Regions from separate parts of the Homo sapiens genome. Here regions 2, 3, 4, 5, 6 and 7 are each linked to region 1. The links are contacts of gene promoters, found by promoter capture Hi-C in blood cells and fetal thymus (Javierre and others, 2016). All regions are on one chromosome and are shown on one strand. The core of a region is centred on a gene start or on the middle of the fragment in contact, and the rest is flanking DNA. Distances in the headings are between cores, read along the strand shown.

The links. Contacts are between HindIII fragments. The CHiCAGO score rates a contact against its expected background, and 5 or more counts as called.
Region 2: a contact is called between a fragment that was not itself captured here and the fragment with the promoter of MIR1915HG in region 1, in 2 of 17 cell types (non-activated CD4 T cells and activated CD4 T cells). The highest score is 5.3, in non-activated CD4 T cells.
Region 3: a fragment that was not itself captured here is called in contact with the fragment with the promoter of MIR1915HG in region 1 in 2 of 17 cell types (neutrophils and total CD8 T cells); the score reaches 7.2 in neutrophils.
Region 4: a fragment that was not itself captured here is called in contact with the fragment with the promoter of MIR1915HG in region 1 in 1 of 17 cell types (erythroblasts); the score reaches 5.4 in erythroblasts.
Region 5: a fragment that was not itself captured here is called in contact with the fragment with the promoter of MIR1915HG in region 1 in 2 of 17 cell types (naive B cells and naive CD8 T cells); the score reaches 7.9 in naive B cells.
Region 6: a fragment that was not itself captured here is called in contact with the fragment with the promoter of MIR1915HG in region 1 in 15 of 17 cell types (total CD4 T cells, total B cells, fetal thymus and 12 more); the score reaches 16.6 in total CD4 T cells.
Region 7: a contact is called between a fragment that was not itself captured here and the fragment with the promoter of MIR1915HG in region 1, in 1 of 17 cell types (total B cells). The highest score is 5.9, in total B cells.

Annotation. Positions count from the first base shown.
Region 1 is chr10:21,495,614-21,499,666 of GRCh38, reverse strand. MIR1915HG (MIR1915 host gene) reads left to right here and starts at 2,407. Exons shown (of 2, transcript NR_160800.1): 1 at 2,407-2,917; 2 at 3,722-4,053. It overlaps MIR1915 (microRNA 1915), which reads left to right and starts at 3,026; the gene lies at 3,026-3,105. RefSeq lists silencers at 2,927-3,176, 3,387-3,436, 3,487-3,926. The HindIII fragment of the contact is 8,649 bases long and covers 1-4,053 here.
Region 2 is chr10:23,088,989-23,093,041 of GRCh38, reverse strand. The region is part of intron 1 of LOC107984215 (a long non-coding RNA gene); the gene reads left to right. Among named protein-coding and RNA genes, the nearest start is that of MSRB2, 4.6 kb to the left of the region's middle. The HindIII fragment of the contact is 948 bases long and covers 1,889-2,836 here.
Region 3 is chr10:23,056,127-23,060,179 of GRCh38, reverse strand. All of the region lies in intron 2 of LOC107984215 (a long non-coding RNA gene), which reads left to right. Among named protein-coding and RNA genes, the nearest start is that of MSRB2, 37 kb to the left of the region's middle. RefSeq lists an enhancer at 3,864-4,053. The HindIII fragment of the contact is 1,271 bases long and covers 1,306-2,576 here.
Region 4 is chr10:23,039,902-23,043,954 of GRCh38, reverse strand. All of the region lies in intron 2 of LOC107984215 (a long non-coding RNA gene), which reads left to right. Among named protein-coding and RNA genes, the nearest start is that of MSRB2, 54 kb to the left of the region's middle. The HindIII fragment of the contact is 646 bases long and covers 1,726-2,371 here.
Region 5 is chr10:23,006,373-23,010,425 of GRCh38, reverse strand. It overlaps ARMC3 (armadillo repeat containing 3), which reads right to left. Exons shown (of 19, transcript NM_173081.5): 14 at 3,445-3,542; 15 at 2,052-2,150; 16 at 1,495-1,611. All of the region lies in intron 2 of LOC107984215 (a long non-coding RNA gene), which reads left to right. Among named protein-coding and RNA genes, the nearest start is that of ARMC3, 80 kb to the right of the region's middle. The HindIII fragment of the contact is 1,607 bases long and covers 1,424-3,030 here.
Region 6 is chr10:22,987,679-22,991,731 of GRCh38, reverse strand. All of the region lies in intron 10 of ARMC3 (armadillo repeat containing 3), which reads right to left. Among named protein-coding and RNA genes, the nearest start is that of ARMC3, 62 kb to the right of the region's middle. The HindIII fragment of the contact is 3,028 bases long and covers 622-3,649 here.
Region 7 is chr10:22,968,515-22,972,567 of GRCh38, reverse strand. All of the region lies in intron 8 of ARMC3 (armadillo repeat containing 3), which reads right to left. Among named protein-coding and RNA genes, the nearest start is that of ARMC3, 42 kb to the right of the region's middle. The HindIII fragment of the contact is 2,764 bases long and covers 298-3,061 here.

The DNA.
Region 1 (4,053 bases), core at 1,158-3,657:
TGGCTCTTCCTCGCCCCCAAATAAATTCTTAGTTAACTAGTTTAGACTAAACACATTAATAGTATTAAGTGGTGAAAATAGACAGGGTTGAACGTGGGGGCATGTCAACTGGACCCAGACCTGGTCATACTTCTCCTCTGGTGACAAATCAGGGTGCTTCCAACACGAAAACAGAAAATAGAAATGTAACATTCAACTGGACGAATTAATTTTTGACGGATTTACGGTATGATTTCCTTTCAAGCAGTATTCATTGGTTCTTTCCATCCACAGTGCGGTCCAAAGACAGAAATATAAACAAGCACTTTATGCTTTGCGGAAACCCCTTAACAGTATCTCCCAAAGAAAGATCAAGACACTTTGTGAATTTTCCCCAGATAATGCCTCATATTCCGAATGACTGATCAGAGAACTCCGGTATTGTTAAATAAAATGAGAGGAAGGCGAGTGACGTGGGAGTCGAACAATGGCATTTCTGAATCTGTTTGCTTGATTGACATTTGGGAGCTTCATGACCCCAGAGAATAGGACTCATTACGGTGAATACACCAAAACATCAACCAAGATTAGAACTCTAGATGCTGTTTTAATCCCATTCCAGTCCAAATTATAGTGGGAAAATATAAAATCCAAGTGCAGAGAATCACTCCGTTATATATTGACCTAAAGTTTTAATTGTACTAAGGGGGAAATAAAAGTGGAAACCCTCTATACTTTCCAGAATTTTAGATAGAGCACTGACAGGGAAAATGCATGGATTTGGTAGCGGAGGTACTAAGAATATTTGTGTGGTATACAACATGTCATACTTGGGAGACACTTTATTGGAAAAATAAGTAGAGAGTTTTTTGTATGTATGAGAAAAATATCATAACCATTTCCACTTAAAAAGTGAAGATCATTCTGATGCCCCAAAATAACTGAGGCTAAGAAATAATTAGATACCTTAAAGCTACAGTCTAAATTTCCATGACTGTTTGGAAGACTTCTCTCCAACGCGGGAGGGGAATTTGTTTTTTAATGTCAAAGGTTGTGTTAGCATGTACATTTAACCCAGGAAATTGTGAGAACTCTCTTCAACTCAAGTTGGAAAAAGGGAATGTGTTTGAGCAAAGTCTATTTTTAACAACAGAAAAGTGTGAGTTAAAGTGGACTGTGTGTTAGGTTGGGAATATAATCCATGGCAACTTCACTATACAAGTATTTTTGATTCTTCAGTGGAACTCATCCTCAAATTTTAGTAACTTGAAAAATTGAAGTCTTAAGTATTGTGTATTAAACTGAACCAAGAGATCACAGAAAGACAAAGCTATGGTAAAAGATGTTATAGTTATATTCTCATAGATTTAGTAGGAAAATCACAGCAAAGGAAATGCACCAGGAAGATATGAAATAGAGGAAATATGTTACAAATAATGAAATAGAAGGAGTTGCTGCACAATATAGCTTCACAATCTTATATTTTGAGGGGTAGGTTTTAATGAGAAGCCTCTGCATTGCATGGGAACTGGGAGTCGTAAGAATTATTTATGCAGTAAGAAGGAAAAAAATTAATTATTAGGAGCTCAATAATCACCAAATAAACTCTGAGCTTGGAGGTTAAAAATAGACGGCTATCTTCATGTTCAATTATACAGTATCAATTACTAATACAACTGATGTTTCAGTGTCTCAGCGAGAACAGATACCATCTTCTATGGAGATATCTTGGTATTAATTAATGACTGCTTTATTCTCATTATTCACAAGGAAAAATAGGGGTCGTGTCACATTAAAATTAAGATTATCTTAGTTTATCTGGGCTCTTAAACAAAGATCATTCAAAGTAATTATACTTTGAATTAATCGAGGTAGGCAATTTATCTCGTTATTTTTTTTTGTTCAAAGACAGGAAAATAAAGATCAGAAATAAGCAAAGTTTCATTTTGAAGATAGAAAGAACCAAACAAACATGTCTTGACTTTTGCAGTATTTCCCTTGCTAAAGGGGGAATGAGGGAACTGTAAAAGACGTGACTTTGCAAAGTCAAGTCCTTTTTAAAAGACTCGGATCGAAATTCTTGCTATGCAACAAGGATTCAAGTTTGATTAATTTTCTGCAAGCGACGTGACAGCGGTGTTTTAAAAGATTAATTAAAATTGAAGTGATACGGAGCAGGAATTCAACCTGCAGAGGCGTCCCTGGCGCCTTGGGGGGCTTTGTAAGCGAGTCCCAAGCCCGAACTGCGGGCTTTCCCGAGCCTGGGACGCAACTCCCCGTCTCCTGGAGAGGAACGCGGAATTTGGCAGGGCGCCCGCCTGGCCGCCTGGCATCCTGAGCTGGCCGCCAGCTCTCGGGGGGTGGGGACTGGGTGTGTCCTGGGGAACCCGCTGCCGAGAGAGCAGCTAGCGCAGCTCGCGACGAGCCATTGAGGACCAGGGTCGCGCCGAGAGGCCGGAGGGGGCTCCAGGCAGCCTGGAGCTGACGGCGCCGGGCTGCGTCCTCTTCACCTGGGGGTGGGGGGTGGGGGCACGTACTTTGTGACCAGGATGGTGCCGAGCCCCCTCTACGGCGGGAGCTTGCAGGGGTGCGGGGGTGTGACTGGCGCTCCGCGGACTCGTGTCCACAGTACAGAGGACATGTAGGGTTCGGCCGGGGCGCGGCTGCACCGGGGCCTGCCTCGCGGACCTGGACTCGGGACTCCGGGCGGCCCTGCCTGGTGCCATTGCCTCAGCCAAGTCTCCCACCTCTCTGCTCGGTTTCCCGCCCCACCTTTCCCCTACTACCGCATCCCTGTCCCCTCGCTTCCCTCCGCGATGTCTCCATCCGAGTAAGAAACGAAGCTGAACGCATTGGTAACTGTGCTCAAGAAGATGCAATCGCGGGAGCCCTCAGGGTGGCGCACGGCGGAGAGGCGACGCGGGTGGCGCTGCAGAGGGTACGGTGGGGGGCGGGGAAGAGGGGGGCGTTCGTGTGCAATTAGCCTCCCCAGGGCGCGGACCACGGTGTCCCCTTCTCTCCAGCTGGGGGTCTCGGGTCCTGGCGCTGAGAGGCCGCACCTTGCCTTGCTGCCCGGGCCGTGCACCCGTGGGCCCCAGGGCGACGCGGCGGGGGCGGCCCTAGCGACCTGCGGCGGCGCCGGGAAAGCCCTGCCTCTGCAGCGGGTCCCAGGGGTCGGGGCCTGGAAGGGTCCCTGGGAATGCTCCGCGCCGAGAAGGCTCTGTGGTTTCTCCTCCCCCACACGTCTCCCTCTCCTCCCCTCTTCCCGGGGACCTCAGAGGTGGCGGGGAAGTGGGAAGGGAGGCGGGCTTGCAGACCGTGCAGGCTGGGGAGCCGGAGCTCGGGAGTTGGGGGAGTCCGAGTGAGAACGGAAGCGCGTGGACGCGATGGAAGGGGCCGGGGGAAAGGGGGACGGCACTGGGGAGGGCTGGGGTGCGGGGCAGGCGACAGTCCCTTCCCCTCCGAGCGGCGCGGGGGACCTCTTCCCCGGGGAACCCCCACCCAGCCGTTCCCAACCTCGAGAACAAAGGGTCTGGGAAGCACGGTCGGGGTCGGGGAGCGGAGGTGGAGGGAGGCAGGAAGGCAGGCGGTGGGGGCAGGGGAGGGCGCCTCCCCACGTTTCCTCTCGCGGCCGAATGATGGAAAGCTCCCTCCAGCAAACGCCTCACTGAGGCCGCTTCTGAATCCGGGAGGGTTCGGGTTCGTTACCTAACGGCTGCACTTCGCTCCCTTCCTCCCCCAGCGTCCCCACCCCCTCCGGGGACCGGGGCCCCGGAGCTGCCAGGCCCGCTGCACGCGGCGGCGCGGGAGAAACCACGGGGCAGCAGCGCCCCCTGCAGGTGCCGGGCGCCTCCGCAGCCGCTGCGCGGACCCGACTCTTAAGGTGGCACCACCGGGTTCCCAGCCCGCGCGCAACCCGCAGCCCTGGCTCCATCCGCCGCACTTCTCCCTGTAGCGGCGGGCCTGACCGTCCGGAACGGCCGGAGTGTGCTGATGCCTGCTGCTATCTGCTTGATCCCTTCACCCTACCTCTCATCCAGGACTTCTTCCGCGGATGCGCAGCTAGCGATTTCG
Region 2 (4,053 bases), core at 1,113-3,612, 1.6 Mb before region 1:
TTGTCTTGTTCCTGATCTTAGAGGAAAAGTATTCAGCCTTTTACCATTAAGTATGATATTAGCTATAAGTTTTTCATAAATTTTCTATCAGATTAAGGAAATTTCTATTTGTAGTCTACTGAGAGTTTTTATCAGGAAGGGATGTTGGATTTTTGTCAAATGCTTTTCTGCAGCTACTGATATAATCATACCTTTTTCCTATTTTCTTTTTGTAGTTTGTTACTTGATTTTCAAACGTTAAACCAACTTAGTATTTCTTCAATAAAGCCTGCTTTGTCAGTTTTATTATTTGTTTCATGTATTGTTGGATTATGTTCTATGTATCATGGATTACATTTTTTTAGAATTTTTGTGTCTGTGTTGATGAAGGATGTTGGACTGAAAGCTTCCTCTCTTATAGTATCTGTCTGGTTTTGTATCTGAGTAATAAGTAAACAAATTCAAATCCAGAGAGGATAAGTACCTTGTCTATGATCACACTGCTAGTTAGTTGAAGAGTTTGTAAAGTTCCCCTAAAGTTTAGAATTTAGAAAATATCAAGGAATACCGGTTTAACTCACCCACCTTCACCCCCAATCCCAAGCAAAGTTAATAAATTAACTTAACATTGTGACATTGTGGGAAAAAAATCATGGAGTCTGGTGTAAAACACATTCAAGTCAGAATATCTTAAATTTAAAAGACGCATGAGCTTGATCAAGTATTCAACCTGTGACAGATCAGTTTTCTTATCCCCAAAATGGGGTTATTGTAAGGATTAGATACAACATACGTTAAAACACCTAGCAAACCCTTTGGTACATACTTGGTTTTAATAAACGTTAGTTGTTATTGAAGATTTAATGAGGACAACGGTAATTGGTAAACAGAGCTGATAACCAATCTATCCTTGCATTTCTACATATCCTCACACTCCCAGAAAGACATTCTAAGCACAGAGGAAGTCCCTCCCTCCCTACCACCATTCTCCTTTACACCTGCTAGGAGGACCTTTACCTCATCTGTGATCAAGCCCTTACTGGTCTTAAAATGTCCCCTCTTCTCACCACCATTTATCTGAATCCAACTTAACCATCAAGGCCATGCATTAACCTCACATTCTTGGACACATGGTCTTAGCCTGAACAAAACTCTACTTTATGTTTTCCCTTTTACTTTGTACACTGAGTGGTAGAGACTATCATTTGCCTGGCCGATATCCACTCTCTCTACTTACAAACAGATCTTTGATTTTATTAAGAGTAGCAATATGCCTAGCTAAAATGTTACATCTGTCAGCTCCCTTGTAGTTGGTGGCAATCATATGATGCTGTTATGGGCAATGATAGGAGCAGACATCACTGGGAGCTACCAGGAAAACTAGTTAAAGAGGAGCTGGCTCAGCACTGGACTTTTGCTCTGTCTTTTGTTTCTGCTTGGAAATTAGTCATGATGGCTGGAGCACTGGCAATCTTCTGGTATACATGAAGATGAGACCCACATCTTGATTTTAAAGAAGTAGAAGACATGAAGGAGCCCAGGATTCTGAAGACAGTGTGGAGTCAATATGCTAGTCTTGGATTGCCTGCCTTCAGATTTCCAATTACATGAGAGACCAATAAATCTATATTTTGTTTAAATCACTGTTACTGGGATTTTCTGTTTCATGAAGTTGACACAGTGTATATCTGATGTCCTGAATTTGATTGTGAGAATCTTCAGGAAAGGCAAAATTCTATAACTTTGACTCTTTGTATATCCAACACACTTCTCTGCAAACTATAAATTTGATAATAAAATCCCTAAAAGATAGGATAGAATGACCAAAAAATGGGAGATAAGTGCAAAAGCCAATTTGCTTTTCCCTACCAAAAACCATTTGGGAAAGAATGAGGGACTGGAATAAGCTTTACACAATTAATCTGCACTGAAAATACTTTATCTGCTTCCATCTGCCCAAAGTTCAATGTCGATACTCATTTTTGTTTTACCTCAATCTAGAGAATTCCTAGAAACTAACCAACTGGAACATCTAATATATATAAAATATAGTTTTAAAGCTCTAAAGGCAGTGAATGAAGACTTAAATAAATGGTTCGATAGAAAAAAATAGCATGGGATAAGCTCTGGGTTCAATTTCTAGGTGTTCTCCTAAGCAGATACAGATGTTTTGGACAAACCAGTCTCTGGGCCTTGGTTTGATTATCTGGAAAATGACACGAATACAGGGGAGGGTGGCCTAGAACTAGAACTCAAATTATATCTCAACTCTCTTCAGTCTGTAATTATATGACGGGTGGTGAAAAATGGAAAGATACACTTGCTGACCAAAGAGCTGAAATTACGAAGGTTAAAATACATTCAACTTATAGATTTAAGCTATGTCACTTATAATCCCAATGGATTACTTTACAGGAATTGAAAAAATAACAACTGAAATAAATGTGGATAAAAATAGACTTTTATGTTAAAGATAATATTGGAGAAGTAGCCTCTCACATGTTAAAAGTGCTTATCAAGGAAGAGTAGATATGAAAACAGTGTTCTGATTGAAATAATAACCAAAAAATAGTCCAGAGAGATAAGAGGTTCCAGAAATTAATACATATTTAACCTATTAGAAACAAGGGGATATAAAATTATTCAGTATATTTTTTGTGGGAAAGTGACTATCAATACAGGGGAAGTAACCTTGGCGTCTAAGGCTTAGATGAATAATTCACTTCAAAAGAATTATTTTTTGAGTTAAAAGTAGTATGTGGATATGTGTATCATGTCAGAGCTCAGAGTACAATACCCCCCAAGTATGGTGCTCTGGTATGCTGAGCATTTTTGAATTAAATGAAATTGGAAAGCTTTAGAAGCTGCCTCAGAAACAACGACTTTCTAACTTTTTATTTCTTCCCCACAAGTGAAGAGAAGGGCTTTCTCCCACTGAGTCTTCCAAAAGAAGTGCAGTTGTCTTAAGATCTCTTTACTAGGAATCTTATCAGATAACCAGGAAAGATTAACTACTGGAGAAGAGGAAAGACTAAAAGTCATCACTATGCCCTGAAACACTTTTTATCTGTTCTTCTGATGGCACCTCTGAGAGATTACTTTATTATTTAAGATTTATTTAAGATTATTTAAATATTTACTATTTAAATAAAAATTAAATGCATAATAGGACAACCTTTGTTCACAGTACAGTTCTGCCCCTCACCTTCCCATAACTGTGGGTCCCATTCTTCTTCCGAAAAGAATAATTCAAAAACTACTGTCTGCTCTTTGGGCCTATTCAATTTTCCTGAAAATTATTTACAATCCCTCAAAATTGCCTAAGTTTCCGCCATCGCCCTCTTCCCTATGAAGAAGATATATAAGTTTCAACAATTTGGCCTTTCTTTGAGTCTCATATTTGTGGGGGTCTTGTGACCATGTGCACTTTAATACATTTGTATGCTTTTTCTTCTGCTACTCTATTGTCAGTTTATTTCAGCAGTCTCACTTCAGAGGGAAAGTTTAAACTTCCCTACCACACATACACAAACACACACACACACACACACACGAAATAAAACAATACTGCATACATCCATTTTGAAATAAAAATAATTTTTGGACAATAAAAGCAATAAAAGGAGTTAGCACTGAACAAATGATAAGGTTGACAGGTTCAAGTGAATGAAATTTAAGTACATACATACATACCACAAGATGAAGAACAAAAAATGATTACTCTCAAATTAGAAAAATTAAAATGATAAAAATACGAGAGTATTGTAATACACATAACAGTAAACATTTAACATTATATATATTAGGGAAATTAATATTATCTATATGGCCAATTTCAGGTCTGACTGGACAGATGGTTAAAGAATATGAACAGATGGTTTGCACAAGGAAAAATACAAATAGTGAACAAACACTTGGGAAAATGTTTGGCTTCCATAATAATTAAAGAATTAAAAATTAAAATGGCCTAATATATTGCCTCATGCATATTAAATTATTAATAATAGTGTTTTTTTGGAATTAAAGCTACCAGAGCTTTAAGAACTCATACACTGTCTGTAGAAATAGGGTCAT
Region 3 (4,053 bases), core at 692-3,191, 1.6 Mb before region 1:
ATGCTGGAGCTGTGCTGCTACAGCCTGCAGAACCATGAGCCAATTACACCTCTTTTCTTTATAAATTACCCAGCCTCCAGTATTTCTTTATAGCAATGCAAGAATGGCTTAACACAGGCTGCATGACTTCTGGGCCATAACTTCTAATCTTGTGGCTAATTTGTTGGTTTTACAAAGGTGGTCTGGTTACCAAGTAAGGAGGGGGTTTGTTTGGGGAGGGGCTGTTATCATCTTTGTTGCAAAGTTAAACTAAAAACTAAATTCCTCCCAAAGTTAGTTCTGCCTATGCCCAGGAACAAACAAGGGCAGCTCAGAGATTAGAAGCAAGATAGAGTTGGTTAGGTCAGATTTATTTTACTGTCATGATTTTCCTATGTCAAATTTTCCTCACTGTCATAACTTTTGCAACGGTGGTTTCAGTAGGAAAATAACTTCCTTGGGAGTGCTGAGACCTGTATTCTGAATCAGCATTGCCGGGAGTTTATAAAAAAGACCTGGGGCAAATCACTTTGCTCCACTGGGCCTCAGTTTTTCCCTCGCTGTAAAATAAGGTTGAACAAAATGGACTCTAGGAATCCGTCAAGCCCTAAAACTCTATTATAGTATTATTGAACCTAATTGTAGCACAAGCCTTTGTTTCATTAACTGTAGATTTGAAACCCTCATTTGCTCTAGGAATCCTTTGGTTGCTGTAAGAATATTATGACTTGTTATTTCTACCTTTAGTGATGGTATCTATGCAATAGGGAAGATAATAAAAATTCTTTCTGGAAAAATAAAAAATAAAAAGTAAATGGGTCACTCATATAAGTGAACTCTGAATAAGCTGTAAGTAGACTATTTGAAGCAGAGAGAAGAATCTATTTTCTAGGATACTATAATCCCTTTTAAGTGAATTCTTAGTGTGATTATCAGATGATAAGTTCTTCAGAGTTGTTTTGCAAATAAATGATGAAAGAGGGGAGGGGGTGTAGTGAGAGGGTAAGTTCCACTGGTTGATGAGACACAATCCTCAGATTGGTCTCTCACCCATATTTGCAGGAGAGCTTGTTCAGAAATCTGAGATTACATGATACAGGATGAAACTACATCAGAGTCAACCACCTAGACTAGGCTAACCTTTATAAAAACAGCCTCCATCACATAATGTTTAACATGTAAAGATAAGTGCTAGAATTTTCTTCCCTTGCTCACTGTTCTGGCACTTAGCATAAGAAAAATGTCTTCATAACCCCGCGTACTGTTCACTTGTGTTCAACACATGCTCAGGAAACACTACAGATCACATTGTCTATGCTGCAAGCTTCCATACCTGCCCTGTTTCTGCTCCAACTGCATGCACACTTAGGATTCTGTTCCAGAAGCTCAGTGATACCGTCTAGAGCAGTTCAAACAGGAGAACAACTTTTCTTCTATTTTTAATTTAAAGATTAACATAAGTTTTATTTCTATTTTTAATTAAAGATTTGAGAGTTCAAACGGTTTTTAAAAAGGTTTTGAACTTAGAGGAGAGCAAATCAGGTGTCTGTTATTACTTGCTCTGTGGCCTCAGGAATTTTGCACTATGGGCTGGGGTGGGGCTGGTTTGGATATGCCTCGCAGTTGCATTGGACCTGTTGTCCAAGAGTTTCTGGTTAATACAGAAACGCAGTCCTGAGGTGCACAGAATCACTGGGACAGGTGTGTCAGAGAACATTCAGAATAGAAGAAAGGTTGGCAAACATAGACAAAGGAATCAGAGCCTTAAACACCATCTTTCAAAGTCTAGGAAACTGGGAGCAAAATTTCCACTTTTGTTTGGCATATTCTCAGGGTTTTGGAACTTTTCAGAAGCAATACAGAAAAAAAAATGACAAAACAAAAGAAACAGCATTTTCTTTAAAAGGGAAAAAGGAAAAAACTGTTGGCCACTCATTGTCATATCTAGAGAATGGAGAAAATTAAGAAAACCAAAGGGCTTTTTACTTTTCATTTATATGCATGAGTAAAACCTTAGTTTTATCTTGTTGCTTTTAGTGGAAGAAAGACATTTTCAAATTGTATTCACGGATTGATTTTTTGGAATAGATGTAGCTTCTTTAGATTTCATCAGAAAAGAATTCTTTTCTATTATAACTATTTGAAAACAGTATATTTTTAGCCATTAAACAGAACTTTTGGAGCTGTGACCAAGTAGTTTTTGGAGCAGTCCATGAGTTTGGGTGTTTGTGTGGATGGAGTTCAGAACACACTGCTCCATATACGATACGCTGACATTTGAGGAAACAGCAGAAGCAGGAAGGTCTCTTTCACCTCCTTCTCACCCTTCTCCCCTGAAACAGGTAATAAGACCTTCATCTGAGAAGTTCCCACTCTATACCTGTCTTTATCTCTGCAGACACAGGGACACAGAGAACACTCTGAACAAACAGGTCTTGCTAACTTTGTAACCACAGGACCAGCCCAAATTGTGCCTAGTCTGTTGATAACAAAATGTCAAGTTACTTTGTAGGTAAAGCAGGGCCGAAAATGGCAAGCCATGTACTTTTTAGGTAAAACAGGGCCAAAAATTGCAGGCGTGCACAATAGACAAAGCTTTGACCTCTAACAACACCTGGAACCAATGATTCCTTCCCTTAGAACCAAAAAGACCAGGGCATGACCCAAACCTGAATGCTGTAACTCTTTCAGAAGATCTGGGGCAAAAATCTGTCTCGACATCCCTGTGATGGTTAACATAGAGTGTCAACTTGATTGGATTGAAGGATGCAAAGTATTGTTCCTGAGTATGTCTGTGAGGGTGTTGCCAAAGATTAACATTTGAGTCAGTGAACTGGGAAAGGCAGACCCACTCTCAATCTTAGAGGGCACCATCTAATCAGCTGCCAGCGTGGCTAGGATAAAAGCAGGCAGAGGAGCGTGGAAGGACTTGAGTTGCTGAGTCTTCCAGCCTTCAGCTTTCTCCTGTGCTCAGTGCTTCCTGCCCTCGAAGATCAGACTCCAAGTTCTTCAACTTTTGGACTCTCGACTCACACCAGTAGTTTGCCAGCAGCCCTCGGGCCTTTGGCCACAGACTGAAGGCTGCACTGTTGGCATCCCTACTTTTGAGGTTTTGGAACTCAGGCTGGCTTCCTTGCTCCTCAGCTTGCAGATGGCCTATTGTGGGACTTCACCTTATAACCATGTGAGTCAATACTCCTTAATAAATGCCCCTTCATATATACATGTATCCTGTTAGCTCTGTCCCTCTAGAGAGCCCTGACTAATACAATACCTTTTCATAAATGGTCAAACTTGAAGCCCTCCAATCAGACCCTGCCAAGCCAACATTCCTAAATCCTTTCCCATTCTCTCTGATCCCTTAAAACTTGCCCCCAGATCCCACATCTCAGAGACAGATTTGAGCCAGTCTGGCTGATTTTGTAAAAAAGCCTTTCTTTTCTACAAAGCTGGTGCCATAGTTATTGACTTCTGTGCACATTGGACAGCGAGCCCATTTTCTTGATCACAACTTTCCCCACAGTTTATGATAGTTAGATCATTCCCCCTTTTTCCAATCATACTTCACAACTATCTACTGAGTTTTTCATCAGATTTAGCATAAAAATAACAGGCTTCGCTGTGTCTTCAGGTTTTCATTTCCTTATGAAGGCTCCCATGCTACTTAAAACTAACATTAAATAAAGTTGTACACGTTTCTCTTGTTAATCTGTTCTTTGTTATAGGGGCCTCCGCCATGACTCCAGCCATGGGAAAGAAAGCTGTTTTTTTTCCCTACAGTATTTTATTGTACTCAGGCACAGAGACTTCAGAACCTGAGTGAAAAGGCCTCCCCTTAAGCTGTAAATGACACAGTATAAAATAAGTTGTTTGCTTTTGACACAGAAATCCAGTCAGAGCAACTCCAAGAGCAAGTTCTCCGGTTAATCTGACATGACTAATTCAACTAAAGTGGATTTTAAAAAATGACTTTAAAAGTAGACTGCATCCCAATTGCTTCCATCTAAACCACCCTCATTTCCTGTTCCTCTGCATTTTCTATTCCTGCTCTCTCCCCTCCTAGAATTCTGACCT
Region 4 (4,053 bases), core at 799-3,298, 1.5 Mb before region 1:
TAGTATGATATAGCTGATAACCACCATACTTCTTTACAAATATTCCTTTGGGGTTGCCAGAAAAGAAAGTTGGCCTTGATGACTTATGAGGCCCATCTATTGTGACCTTTTTAATGTAATTATAAATAATATACATATATAATAAGCTTTTATATATCTGTATAAAACATGTGAATATCTATATTTATACATATTATAGGGATACTGGCTAGGGTAAGTTCACATATCCTTGTATGAATCGTCTCTATTTTACAGATGAGAGATTCCATAAAGACTGTTAAGAATTGATGAAGCTATTGGGAGATAATGCTCCATGGGTCTCCCTCGTTCTGCACATCTTCCTGATTGACTTTTGTTCCAGACTATCTTTTCAAGGGTGTTGGTGAATAGCCTTGGCAAATAATATAGTGTCTCTCTTGCTGCTCATTATACTCATTTTTTTTTTTTTGAGACAGTTTCACTCTTGTTGCCCAGGCTGGAGTGCAATGGCGCCATCTCAGCTCACTGCAACCTCCACCTCCCAGGTTCAAGCAATTCTCCTGCCTCAGCCTCCTGAGTAGCTGGGGTTACAGGCATGCGCCACCATGGCCAGCTAATTTTGTATTTTTAGTAGAGATGGGGTTTCTTCATGTTGGTCAGGCTGATCTCGAACTTTCAACCTCAGATGATCCACCCATCTCAGCCTCCCAAAGTGCTGGGATTATAGGTGTGAGCCACTGCGCCTGGCCCTTGCTGCTCACTATAAAGGATTTGGGTTCTCTAAGCTCAGAGTTCTTCTGTAACACAAACCACTGCATTGATAGGCATCCATCTGGGTCTATCCATGTTTTCCCCATGAGACTTGGGAGCAAGGAGATTTGACACAAATAGCCTGGCTCATGCTGCTTGCTTTGCTGTGAGTAATAAAATCCTTTGTCTCTGATCCAGATATCTCATGTCTTATTCCAGCAACAATAAAATTGGCAGTTAGCTTGCAAGTAGGATAAAATCTCAGACCCTTCACAGTTCTTAACAAAAGTATAGAAGATAGGAGGTTTATTTTCTTATGTAGATTGGTCAAATCTGTCCTCATCCTATTGAAAAATAAGGCATCTGTGTTGGCATCCATTGGAATAACATCAAGCAGATCCATCTTAGAGCCCAGAGAAACCAGGAAAGGCAAATGCCAGGGTGGGAGTCTCCCCTGAATACTTAGCTAAGGTGCCCAGGGATTATACTAAGTAAACTGAAGCCTTTCCATGTCCTTATCCTCAAAGTGCTCATCATCTAAAGCAAGGGTTGACCAACTATGGTCCGTGAGCCAATCTGGCCCCCCACCTGTTTTAGTAGATACAGTTTCATTGGTTAGGTATTATCTATGCTGCTTTTGTGCTGCAATAGCAGAGTTGAGTGGCTGCAGTAGAGATGGAATAGCCTGCAAAACCTGAAATATTTACTCTCTGGCCCTACAGAGGGATCTCAAGAGAGAGACAAATGCTTGAAGAATGAGGAATTCCCTTAAAACATGCTAAAGGCAAACAGAACATCATGTGTGCATAGAATAGAGAGCTACACACACACACACACACACACACACACACACACGCACTCACATATACAAATGCATATGCCATCCCCCACCTGTCATTTATATGCATGGTCTTATTTCACCCTCACAACAGCTTTATGAGACATATAGGTTGGAAGCATGGCCTCTGAAGCCAAACTGTGTTTAAATTGAAAGCTTTGCCGCTTACTAGCTGGACAATCTTGGGCAAATTACTTAACCTCTCTGTGCCTGGGTTTTCTCACTTGTTAACTGTGGGTAGTCCTACCTATGCATCACAGGATTACTCCAAGAGTTGAAACTACAAAGAACAGCCTCTGGCACATCGTAAACAATATATAAATATTTGCTATTATTTTTCCTTACTTTCCAGAAGACTAACTGAGGGAGATAGAGGTTAAGTAATTCTCTCAAGGTCACACGGCTAGAAAAAGTGAGAGACAGAACTTGATCTCAGCTCTGATTCTAAAGAGGTGCTATTATATTGCTTCTCAATAATAAAGACATTGAATTTTTTAATCCCTGCTATTATTTTAATTCTCAATAATAAAGGCTTATTGAATTTATAAGTAAAATCACCACAAGAAAATTTCTTTACCTTTTCCAACAATGCTTTTTATTTTTTAAATTGTGATTTGTGGTTTATTTATTGGTAGATCCTACAGGTCTCTTGTACTGTGTGAGTTCCACAAGAACTTTATTTGAATTCACTATATTAATATAGTCCCACCTGACACCTTGATGATTGTCCTTGGAAATGAAGTCCACTTTTATTATTAAACTAATTATATTCATGGCTTTAAAATGATAAACCTAAGCAAAGCTTTTGCTAGTGATCTATATAATACTACTCAGGTAATTTTAAATAAAGAATAGGACTTTTAAATATTAATCCCTAAATAAGTGACTTGACACTATGTATTGTTCCTAGAATATACCAAGAACAGTGATATTTTTCCATATAGTGTTTAGTAAGTTCATCCTACCCCCGTATTCAGTTGAGTTTAAAAACAAACAGTGGCAGGGTGTGGTGGCTCACGCCTGTAATCCCAGCGCTTTGGGAGGCCGGGGTGGGTGGATCACCTGAGGTCAGGAGTTTGAGACCAGCCTGGCCAACATGGCAAAACCCCATCTCTACTAAAAATATAAAAATTAGCTGGGTGTGGTGGCAGACGCCTGTAATCCCAGCTACTCGAGAGGCTGAGGCAGGAGAATAGCTTGAACCCGGGAGATGGAGGTTGCAGTGAACCGAGATGGCACCACTGCACTCCAGCCTGGGCAACAGAGTGAGACTCTGTCTCAAAAAACAAACAAACAAACAAAAAAAGAGCATGTAAATACAGCCTCTCTCTAGATAGTTCTAAGGAAAAATGCACCATCTCTTGAAACCCCATTCCTCATCTCCAGATTGCCAGCTCTGGCAGGGGAATACTGTAAGAGATATCTTGCTGAGAAACAAGTTACTTGCCATTAAAAGTAATGACAAAAACCATAATTACTTATGAGATGGGAGGATCACCTGAGCCCTGGGAGGTCGAGGCTGCAGTGAGTTATGACTGTGCCACTGCATTCCAGCCTGCGTGACAGAGTGACCCTGCCTCAAAAAATAATAATCCATTCGATTTTACATGTTATTTTGAGCTTCTGGAAAAGTATTTTTCATGGATGAAGTTCTGCTTCTTTGGCAAGGAAATAATACATTTGATGTGTACTTATTAAAAGTATTAAACACATTTGATGTGTACTTACGAAAAGCACAGTGCAAACTTCAATTCTCATTTATGATGCTTGCTTAAAGATCAAAGCTTGTGAAACGGATTTTATTTAACTGTCCATTTTCCATTTAATTAACAGCTATTTTTAAAAGTTAGTTATTAATTTTAATGAAATGTTTTGATCTCCAGAAGTAAAACTCTGGATTTTGGATCTGACAGAACAACTACAAGTTACTTTATATAAATTGTCTTGAAATGTCACAACCACAACAGTTGCCAGGGTTTTAAGGGACACCCAGGATTCTGACTAAAATCTCTATAGTTTCAGATATTACCCCATATGGTTTGGGTCTAGTTCTGACCAAATTGCACATTATTCCAGGCCAAAGCATATAATTCCTGAAGGATATCCTTAGCACTTTTCCCTCTCGCTGTAGCAACTGAGGAGATCTTGTATTCCAGATGCTGCAGGTACAAAATGGAGGAACTTCTGTCAGCCTGGGTTCTTGAATGACTGTGTGGAACCGAGCTCCCACTATTGACCTATGTTTGATATGTAATGTGATAAAAGACCTAAGCCACTGAGATCTGAGGATTATTACCCCTATAGAAAAGTGTTGCCAACTCTGTTTATTTTCCAAGTGTATTGTCTTTTTCTTATTGATTTTTAGAAGATCTTTGCTTATTGAGAATGTTAACATTTTGCTTGTTAAATATGCTGTTTTTTTTTCTCCCTGTCAATAATTTTGCTTACAGTGTATTTTGCTGACAGGAATTTAAGAGTTTTATGTA
Region 5 (4,053 bases), core at 978-3,477, 1.5 Mb before region 1:
GGGTGGGAGGGAAAGGGGAGGAGAGGGAAGGGAAAGAGAGGGGAAGGAAGGGAAGGAAAGGGGAGGGAAAGGGAAGGAGAGATAAGAGGGTAGGTCAGGGAATGGGAAGGAAGGGGAGAGAGAAGGGAAGGGAAGGGGAAAGAGAGGGAAGGGAAGGGAAAGGAAGAGAAGAACAGGGATGGGAAGGGAGAGAGGAGGGAAGGGAAGGACAAAGAAGCGGAGGGAAGGGAAGGAGAGGGAAGCTGGAGAGAAGGGAAGAGAAGGGGAGGGAGGGAAGGGAAGGACAGGGAAGGGGAGGAGAGAGCAAGCAGAAGCTATGGGACTGGAACCACAGGGATGGATGAGTAGCAGTGATGAGAATATTGAGCAACAGAGACTCTAACAACAGAGAAGAAAGCCAGAGCAGAAAATAAAGCAGTCTGAGGATGAGGGCAAACCACTGCGTACGCCTTGGGAGACTTGGGGCCCAGCCTCCTTGGAAAGCAGGGGTCTGGTATCTGTTCCCCACAGCCTCCAATGCCACCGTGGCCCTTACAGGCTTAAGTCTACCATAACTCAATACAGTTTTTCAAAGAATCCAGGAAAGTTCTCATAGAAGAAGTATGTTTTAAAAATATGTAAACATGTGGGGCCGAGCAGGGTGGCTCATGCTTGTAATCCCAGCACTTTGGGAGGCCAAGGCAGGCAGATCACGAGGTCAGGAGTTTGAGACCAGCCTGGCCAACAGGGTGAAACCCCATCTCTAATAAAAATACAAAAATTAGCCGAGCATGGTGGTGCACACCTGTAATCCTAGCTACTTAGGAGGTTGAAGCAGGAGAATTGCTTGAACCAGGGAGGCAGAGGTTGCAGTGAGCCAAGATGGGAGATGGTGCCACTGCACTCCAGCCTGGGCGACAGAGCGAGACTCTGCCTCAGAAAACAAAACAAAACAAAACACAGACCTCAAAACGACATTATAATTGTCCCAACCAAGTAAGAGCGTTGCTCTATTTGCCTCTCCTCCTCCTCATTCCTTCTCCCATGGAGGGTCAGAGATGGTGAGGGAGGTGGGGAGGGCCGTGGAAGCAAAAGTGGGGCGGGAGGAGAGAGCGTGGGACCACACATCTGGGTGTGGGGTTCCCCACCTGCAAAAGTCAGCAGTGGGAGGCAGAAACCCTCACACCAAGTTGGTTACCCAGGGTTGGGCTTTCAAAGGACTGATTAGAGACTGCTGTCCCTGTTGCCAAGTTTTAATTAAAGCGACTGTAGGACCCTGTTGTTCCTACAAGTGATCCAAGTGACCAGAGTTTTTGGCCAGAGCCAGAAGACAATTCTCTCCGGGTAAGTTTTAAAGAGATGGTAAGAGACAAAAATCAAGTTTCTTTTAAATTTCATCTCATGAGTCTTGCCTGGTTCAACACCCTGATGTCAGAAGAAAGCTTCCTACTGAAGAGCCACCCCTCCCTTCCACCAGCCTGGCTGGGTAATGAGGAACTCAGGACACTTTCTTACCTCCATCCTTTTTCTTTGGTGGCGCTTTTGCTGAGAACAGTATTTCGTCCAGAAGCTGGCTCTGATTTGTCTTCTATGGGAGATCCAAATCCAGCACTAAAATGATAACTATTTTTTCTTGTCATTTGAAAAAAAACCACAACCAATTTCAATCATATGGAAAACAACAATACATTACATTTGCATTTAGAGCTTACAAGGCATTTTTACTTCATTATACAATTTTTACTTCATTATATAACTTGATTCCTTTCCCCATGATGAAGCCAGGGACCCGGTGTTATTTCGTCCACAGCTAAGGAAACGAAACCCACACAGACACTAAGTCATGTGGCCCAAATCACTGCAGGTCCACAGGGCGAAATAGAAGGTGAAACCAGATTTCCTGGCTCCTATTCCAGAGATCTTTCCCATAGCAATGTAAAAGGCAATTATGCAATTGTATTACCATAAGAAGAATAAAAATCAAGTTGCCCCAATCTAAAATCTAAAACATTTTTTCACACTCAAATTAAAGGGGAAGCTGTTTGCATACAGATAAAACATCATTTTCTTACTTGTTCTTTTCTTTACTTGATCTTCTTAAGGAAGATGAAGAAGAAATACTTCGTCCATAACCAACATCTGATTTATCTTCCATAGATGAAGGTGGAGAACTAAAATTTTACACATTTAAAATTATATATAGATTAAAATTATTTGTCAACAGATGGTTTTATTCCACGAAACAGATTTTTTTCTGAAAGTCATAACTGAAGCTGACTTTTAACAGTGACATACTGTTTTTAAAGTATAAAGGAGAAGTCATTTTTTCTTTGTTTGTTTTTTGAGACAGGATCTCACTCTATCGCCCAGGCTGGAGTGCAGTGGTGCGATGATGGCTCACTGCAGCCTTGACCTCCGGGGCTCAAGCGATCCTCCCACCTCAGTCCCCCAAGTAGCTGGGACTACAGGCATGTGCTACCATACCCAGCTAATTTTTGTATTTTTTGTATAGATGGGGTTTCACCGTGTTGCCCAAGCTGCTCTCAAACTCCTGAGCTCAAAGGATCCTCCTGCATCAACCTCACAAAGGGTTGGGATTATAGGCATGAGCCACTGCAAGAAGACTATTATAAAGCCTTTCATAAGCTAGAACAGAAATTATTTGTATAAAATGTATCACATAACTACTATATGGATATATAGATATACACGATCTCTCGCTCTCTCTCTTTTTTTTTTTTTTTTTTTGAGACGGAGTCTTGCTCTGTTGCCAGGCTAGAGTGCAGTGGCAGTGCAATCTCAGCTCACTGCAACATCCGCCTCCCGGGTTCAAGTGATTCTCCTGCCTCAGCCTCCTGAGTAGCTGGGATTACAGGCGTGCGCCACCACACCCAACTAATTTTTGTATTTTTTAGTAGAGACAGGGTTTCACCATGTTGGCCTCGATCTCTTGACCTCGTGATCTGCCCGCCTCGGCTCCCAAAGTGTTGGGATTACAGGTGTCAGCCACCGTGCCCGGCCATGGTCATTTTAAAGAAGACCATGGAAGCTTTAATTTTTAGCTCTATCATTTACTTCTTATTTCAAAGAAAAATGTTGGGTGGTAACTGTACTCCAGCACATAGTCCTGGAGAATTGTAAACATGATTCATCTCGGTTTGCTGCTATTTACACTTTCTTCAATGACTCCATGGTAAGAGGCCTTGACTTCAGAATACACTTGAAATTGACTGGCAGTATAGAGTCAAAGAAAGAGAGCAGAGAGTGCATTGATTTGCAGTGGTGGCTATTTCATGGTTATTCCATGTCGGGCTATGAGTTTATGAGCCAGTGTTTATTTTCATGGAGGTGCTAGATACAGGAGAAAAGGGTCTGGGAATCTTTGCATATTCACACGTTGGTGGAGAAACAACAACAACAAGCAGTATGTGCTTCCCTTCATCCCCTCTCCCTGCAGAGACTCACACGTAAGATTTACTGTTGATTAAGAGTACAGCCCGTAGGTCACTTGGTTCTTGTAAGCAGAGCTCCTTCAAAGGCAACAGTTTGGTGCCGGGATTTATCTGTGAGATAATTTAAGGACCAAAAAGTAGTATCTGCAGGGGTCATATTTTCGAAAATGAATACAGATAGAATATATTCTCAGCTGTTTGCGGTGTCTCATTTCACACACACAAACACACACATGTACAATATACATATATAAAATTAGAAATAGGAACCTGAAGCTTGTGGATGTTCTTGCCTTTGGGCAGGACAGATCCAGTTCCTTATCATCTCGATTGCTTTACACTCGGCTGTTTCATCCCATCATTATCATCTTGGCCCCTGGAAGTATTTGGATTGGCAAATCCATCTATATACCTAAGGGAGAGCTGACTGCCTGCAAAAGTAACTGAATACTGGAACAGATGACTAAAAGTGTTGTGAGTGTATCTAAAAGTAGGCTAGACAAAGCCCTGTGCAGGCAGTTTCACAAGCCTGGAGGAAGAGGGCTAGACTAGATCACTTTTGAGATCTTTTTCCAATTAAGTTATAGTTGAATCCCTTTCTCATCCAAGATACATTTCATGG
Region 6 (4,053 bases), core at 886-3,385, 1.5 Mb before region 1:
TTCCTTAACAAGCCCTGTATCATTCTCTAGGCCCCTTCCTAACCCCGGGGCCATGGCCCTCTTTCCACATTGTGCTGTTTGAAGTTTACCTATACTGTAACAATTCTGCAATTACCATTTTAAAATTACTTGTGTACTGCTGGCCTCCCTGACTGAAATGTAGGCCTGATGTGTTCCTTTCCTGTGGTACCCCAAGAGCCTAGCACAGTGCCCAGCAGGTAAAGGATACCCAGATAATGGTAGAATCATTACCAAAAAAAAAACCTAAAACAAAACAAAAAAGAAAAAACAAAAAAAAACCTACAGTCAAGGTGGTAAGTTCCCTGTATTTTGGGGTGAAATGATAACAGCTGTACCGACGGATCACATCCGGCCCCCAGTGGAAGAAGCTGGATTCCAGACTCCCTGTGATACTGGCTAGGGGGTAATCTCTTACATGCACAAAATACAGTAGATTATATAGATTCATTTTTACTTGTTTGTTTCATAGTCAAAAAAGACAGGATGCAGAGAGACTAAAACTTGCTCAAAGGTAAGTTAATCAACAGAGACCGGAAAAACAAACACATGGTTTTCTGACCTTTAATTTATTAGTTTTTACATTTTTCAACCTCTTAAGCTTTAAAAAGTATAGTATTTTCAGGAAAACAAAAACCAAAAGAATTTACTTGCTTTAGGACATCATTCCTTAGGGAATGGAAAATGAGAAGGAGGAGGAGGCAGAGGAAGCAGAGAGGAGGAGGCAGAGGAAGCAGAGAGGGGGAGAAGGGAGACTAGGGAAAGGAACCCGGGGAAAAAGGTGGAGGGAGGGTCAGAAGCAAAGAGAAAGGGAAAGGAAGGGATGAAAGATGATTTCAAGGTGCCTACTGGAGTGAGTACAAGGAGTGCTGGAGGAATTCAAAGAGATCATGAATTTCAGCACAAGGGAAATTTCTGGTGGGGAAAATGTGGAGAAGTTAAGGGTCCTGGAGGCACTGATGAGGAAAGAATGAGAGAAAAGTTGCCGGGGTGGAGAGTAAGAGGTTCAGCTCCTACCAGCTCCCTGGGGACCTACAGAACAGACCACCTCTGTGACTGTGAGTAAGCACCGGGCCTTGGTTTCCTCATCTGCAAAATGGGCATGACAATAATATTCCTTCCCCCATAGGACTGCTCTGGGATTTAATGATATATTCCACTCAAGGACTTAGCTTAATACCTGGCCGATAACTGCTAGCTTTCAACAACATCATCATCCTCTTAACATTCAGTGAGCCACAAGGGTAGAGAGTTTCAGATCATGGAAACGTAAGATCATATTGTAAAACTTGTGTGTGTGCATGAAAATTTCATTTTCAGACAATTTTTAGCTAAACAGCAAAATCTCCTACACCTGCAGAGCTAGAGCTGGGGCAGTTTCCTCAGAAATCCTACTCAAGCCTTTCACTCAAGTGTAATCAATGAGTGGTAAGGACCATTTCCAGTGTGAAGAAAAATCAAGAGAAATGATTAACATAAAAAGTCAAGGGTTGGTAAAAATAACCTTATATAGGTTTAAGTATGCTTCAAATTGGAAGTGGGGGGGGGAAATCACACAATATAAAGATTTCCTCTGAAAATCAGTAATGTTGGAAATTAAACCTGAAAGAGAGTACTAGCAACTTTAAAACGAGGTTATGCAAATATCAGTCTCTGCACTGTAGGTAATAAAAGTAGCATGGATAATTTTCTAATTGAACATTTTATGGGATTCACTTGGCCTCACAAAATCAGTAGCTAATCAAATTCAAACTGTTAGTCAAGGTCAGGTGGGCATCCACTGACATGAAATGGGGATAGGGAATCCACTTGTTCTATTGCAAAATTCAGCTTTTCATTCTCTGTTTTCCAAATTCAGTATGATTTTTCCAATCCAGTATAACCAATGTTTAGAATAAGATTCCATCAGACAGGGAGGAATCTAGGCTCTAAGGGGCAGAAAGAAAAGCATCCACTCAGTAAACTTGGACAGAAATAATGCAAGAATAATTCTCAGGTTTACCATGAGGACTTTTCCCATTTATTTTATCTATTAATTCCAGAGGACTTTTAAGGCATTAATTAACATGTTAAATACATTCTTCCAGAGCTCATCCTTAATACAAAACAAAACCTCCTAAAAACTTATGAAATTAGCTATCTTGCAAGATACTCATCTTGTGAGTATTCTAATTCAAAGGATCTAGAATTTTACAACAAAGTGATATAAATAAGAATGTAAAACAAAATCTATTATACAAAGTCAAGAGCAAAAAATCGACTCTAGAGAAACCATAATAGCAATGAGATTTCTTAGATTATGTTGTTCAAGAGTATTACATTTATCCTATCTGGTTATATAGCACAGAAGATGTCCAGCTACCGGTACAATGAATGCGTCAAAACATTTGTAAATGACTACACCTTAATAGGGGACAAAGTCAAACACAAGCATCTGTTAAACACACGTTTAGCAGTAGAATATTATCTCTAAAAGCAGCATGTTGAAATGATTTTCAGATCGGAATCTTTTAAAAATGTTTTGGAAATATTATCTTAGATACACTGGAGAGTGTTCCAAATTAAATTAACGTACGTTTCATTAAACTACAGAACCATCCTTCCATTACCTTTTTTGCCCCTCCCCCAACGTCCTCCTAATCGGCCACTAGGGGTCAGTATGAAGACGCAGTTCCTTGCATTGTTAGAAAATGGAACTCTCCGAAAATGAAAAACCCTATGCAACAAAGACAATAGCTGTACAACCTTAGCAATATTAAATGCAACCTATACATCAAGTCTACAACACGAACTTGCATTTTTCATGGGACTACGTTTTAATTTTGTAAATCACTGTGGATTATCTCTATGGTCAATGCTTCTTTAGTAAAAAGTATTCTCAATGACAGGATTACTTATGTAAGTGGGTCTGTGTAACTGGCCAAGAAGTGTGTTCTAAGAATAGGGTGTTAACATTTATTTTTCAAAGGGTGATGGGACACATGTCTAGCCATTTCATCTCTTCCTGTACAGGGATGGAGAAGGAAAAGTGGAACTTGTGGTTTGTATTTTGCTAACTTTAAGAGATTTTTCCCCCCTTCAAAATGACCATCATCATTCACTGCACTCAGCCTTCATTCCACTATGAAATATAGGCAATTCTAAGGAGAAACCATTAGCCTAAAATCAATAGAATAAAAGAAATGGTAACAATAAATACACAATACATTATCTTCCCACCAACTTTACTGAATGGGAGAGAAATTTTTCAAAAGGTTTGAAAAGTGCTTTCTATTTCTGCTGGAGAAACTTAACATTCCAGGAAATCATTAAGATCATGCCCCTCCCTGACAATACTGAAATGATTGATAAAGGACTTTGGTCACTGTGAGTAAATGCAGCACTGATTTTTGTTGAAGCACTAGATGAAGTATTGACTTTTCTTGAAACACTGTGTGAAGTTCTGTATGTGGCATACGTTCTAAAGTTTTCTCTACAAATTGCATGGCATTCTCAGGCATGATACTCCATGAATAATTCTAATAAGTATTAAAATTAGTCAATGCTTTATTTCTATATTAGCGAAAAGAATGTTTAATACTGATAATACAAAATGACAAGTTATCCATATATAACGAGGACATTCTAAGCTTCCCAAAGCACTCAAATGCACATCCATATAATTTGGGGGCATTCTATCTGTTTGTGGAGTCCCTTTGGAGTGTACTGCTTACAATTTCATCATTCCCTTGTGCGGTCCTGACCATAGGGAACACAACAGCAAGACAGTTTCTGGGGAAGAGCTTTTTGTCTCTGGTATTGTAGAAGCTGGCAATGGGCCAGTAATCAATCAATTAATTTTTCAGTCACCACTATATGTGCTAACATTTAGAACTTTCTTGGGTCACTGCTGTCATGGAAAGTCAAAAGGGGTACAAAAAATAAAAAATAAAAAGCAAAGAAATGGTAATAAAAGGGTCTCTAAGATTTAGGTAAATCACTCAGTTCTTCATGGGGATGACATGGAATAATTATGAAGAATCAGAGTTAGTGTGA
Region 7 (4,053 bases), core at 430-2,929, 1.5 Mb before region 1:
AAGACAGGAGACACAACTTGAAACTGGAATGTAGTTATTTTAGAACTAACAAAAGGAAGTAGAATCAGAAAACATTAAGTGCCAGAAAGGATTTAAAGACTATCTGCTTGAATTCCTTTCTATTACAAATAACCAATTTCAACAAATGATGCTAGGAAAAATTTATGTCTACATGAAAAAGAACGAACTGGGACCATAATTTTATACCCTATATAAAAATAAACTCAAAATGGATCAAGACCTAAATATAAGAGCTACAGCTACAAAACTCCTAGAAGAAAACATAGGGCAAAAGCTTTGATATTTGGTAATGAGTTATTGGATATGACACCAACAGCAAACAGCATAGCCAACAAAATAGATAAATTGGAATGCACCACAATTTAAAACTTTTTGCATCAAAGCACACAATCAACAGAGTAAAAAGGCAAACCACAGAATGGGAGAAACTGTTTTCAAATAATATCTGATAAGGGGTTAATATCCAGAATATATAAAGAACTTCTGTAACTTAGCATCAAGAAAACAACCCAATCAAAAAATGGGAGAAGGACTTGAATAGATGTCTCCAAAGAAGATATGCAAGTGGCCAGTAAGTACACGATAAAGATGCTTGAAGTTGCTAATCATTAGGGCATGCAAATAAAAAGTACAATGAGATAGCACCTCACGCCCATTAGGATGGCTACTATCAACAAACAGAAAATAGCAAGTGTGGGCCAGGATGTGGAGAAATTGGAACTCTTGTGCATTGGTTATGGGAATGTAAAATGGTACAGCTGCTACAGAAAACAATATGGCAGTTTCTCAAAAAAATTAAAAATAGAGGACGGGCATGGTGGCTCACACCTGTAATCCCAGCACTTTGAGAGGCTGAGTTGGGAAGATTGCCTGAGGTCAGGAGTTCAAGACCAGCTTGGCTAACATGGTGAAATCATGTCTCTACTACAAATACAAAAATTAGCTGGGTGTGGTGGTGCGTGCCTGTAGTCCCAGCTACTCAGGAGGCTGAGGCAGGAGAATCGCTGGAAGCCAGGAGGTGGAGGTTGCAGTGAGCTGAGATCACACCACTGCACTCCAGCCTGGGTGATGGAGCGAGACTGTCTCAAAAAAAAAAAAAAAAAAACTAAAAATATAATTACCATATGATTCAGTAACTCCACTTCTAGGTATATATCCAAAATAATTGAAATCAGGGACTCAAAGAGATATCTGTATACCCACATTCTTAGCAACATTATTCACATTAACCAAAAGGCAGATGTAACCAACTGTCCATCCATGGTTGAAAGGATAAACAAAATGTGGTCTATACAGGCAATGGATATTCTTTGGCCCTAAGAAGGGAGGAAATTGTGACACATGCTACAACATGAATGAAACTTAAGGACATCGTGCCAAGTGCTATGCATTTGCAAAAGGACAAATGCTGTATGATTCCATATATATGAGGGATCTAGAGTCATCAAATTCATAGAGACAAAGAATAGTGGTTGCCAGGAGTTTGTATGAGGAAGGAGTGGGAATGATTGTTTAATTGGTATACTTTTAGTTTTGCTAAATGAAAAGATTTCTGTGGATGGACAGCACCACAAAAATGTGAATACATTTAATGCCACTGAAATGTACACTTAAAAATGATGAAGACGGTAAATTTCATAGTATTTGTATTTCACCACAATTTAAAAAGCAAGAATAGGATTGATTCCTTTTCTTCAAGCAAAACCGCTCCCCTTCTTGAGTTCTTCAGTTCTGTGAGTGGCACCATTTTACTTCTAGCTGTCTAAGCCAGAAACCTGGCCTCATCCTTGGTATCGCCTTCTTCCTCTTTCAACCAACATAGTCATTCAAAAATACTCACACATGTGCTGGTGGTTCTCCTTGCAAAGTGCCTTGAGCCAGTCCTGAACACCGCATCTCTGTTTCAGGGCACCTTCACATCTCACCTAGATTACTACAGCAACCCCCTTTTGGTCTTCTGTGTCTGGTCCTAAACATTTCCAATCTCTTCTCCACTTTGCAACACGAGTTCTCTTTCTTTAACAAGTGAAAATCCATGATGTTCCCTCCCTTCTGAGTAACTTCAATGGCTCTTTGTTGCCATTAAAATAAAGTCCAAAATCCTTAACTGGGCTTATAATGTCCATGAGCACTGGGCTCCTCACCACGTCCATAGCCTGAGCGCTCAGTGTTCTGTGGCTTTCTGGTCATTGGCCATTCTGAAAACTTTCGGTTCTGGAACTTACCATGTTATCCCTCCTCTGGCTTTTATACACCCTGTTCCTTCTCAGAACCACTTCTCCTCCTCCATCCCATCTGAACCTTCTTTGACCAGACAATTTATCTTATTTACTCTAGGTCCTAGCTTGTTAATCACTGATTTCAGAAATATTTTTCTGATCCAGGTCTGTGCTGGGAGCCTTCCTGGGTGATCCTGTGTTTCCATCATTAATCACTTTGAACACTGCATTGTAAGTGCCTGTTTACTTTCCTGTTCTGGGTGAGAACTCAGTAAGAAATCATGAGTAAACGAATATATACATTGTTCTGGAGAAGTTATAGTTCACTCAAAATCACTTAAGTAGGTCGTTACAATGCCAGTAGTGGAACTAGTACTAGAACTCTAGTACCAGGAACTCTGCAGCATACTTTCCAGTACTGTGGCACATGATGGGTAGGCATCATCAAACTCACCACCTCAAAATGAGTGAGAACAGTCTTAGAATGACCCAGCCACATTTGATACATATAAATACTCTCCAAAGAGATGCTGAGATACGCAAACATTTCAGGTTTGGCATTGTCCGTGTCTCCCCATTTTACTTCTCTTCGGGTCTCACTTAGCTAAGAAGAACTAGGATAGAAGGAAGAGAGAACTGACCAGCTAGAATAATGTCTAAGTTCCATTTGATAGAATACTGGGTAAACCAACTTTTGCCAATATGAAGAAACCTTGATTTCACAACCAGTCTCTCAAATAGGCATTTATAATGTAACTCATGAGGCCCCTCTATGCACACTACATACTGGATGGTGAAATCTTGCTTACTGCATTAAAGCTTTGTCCTGAAGAAATCCAGTGTGTGCTGAAAATGGAGTGTTTCCCATAGTATACATATCAATATACAGATGTGAGTATATATGTTTAGAATATAAATCACTTAAAATAGTCAATGCTGTCATCATTTCTAAAAGTGGTGCAGAAGGGGAAAAATAAGATCACATCTTTTATTAGATAAAAGACTCCAAATATACATAAATTAAAACTATAATTTCATCTGTGCTTGTGCTGTAATTAATCTCTCATATTTTACAGATTTATATCAACATAACTTGTCACTGAAATGCAAATTGTATTATGTATATAGTATGAGCATATTTTTCACAGCTATGTAACATGGTGCTACTAGACTCCAGCTGAAACTTGAAAATTACTTTATAGATATCATTGTGAATGTGGATTTCTTCAATGCTCTCAGGTTCACAAACAATGCATACCTTCTATATAATTCCAAATTCAAGTGAAACAAAGGCTTAAAACTTAATGTAGAAATGAATTGTATTTTGAAAAATAGGATAATGAAATCATATTGAGTTCTTCATATCCCTGACAAATCTCTAACTCATTGGAAGTGAGATGAGTTTGGACTTAAGTAGTAAATATAGCACTATTCTCAAATGGTTTTTTAAAAGCAGACAAATGCTCTAGTGTTGATTAGTACTAATCAAAATTGAGACAAGAGGAATTATATATGTTTTGTTTATATAAAATAAGACATGGCAGGGTGCAGTGGCTCATGCCTGTAACTCAGTCAAAGTGGGCAGATCGCTTGAGCCCAGGAGTTCTAGACTAGCCTGGGCAACACAGCAAAACCCTGTCTCTACAAAAAATACAAAAATTAGCCAGGCATGGTGGTGCATGCCTGTAGTCCCAGCTACTAGGAAGGCTGAGGTGGGAGAATCACTTGTAACCTGGGGAGGTTGAGGCTGCAGTGAGCTGTGATCACGCCACAGCACTCCAGCCTGAGAAACAGAGCAAGATCCTATCTCAAA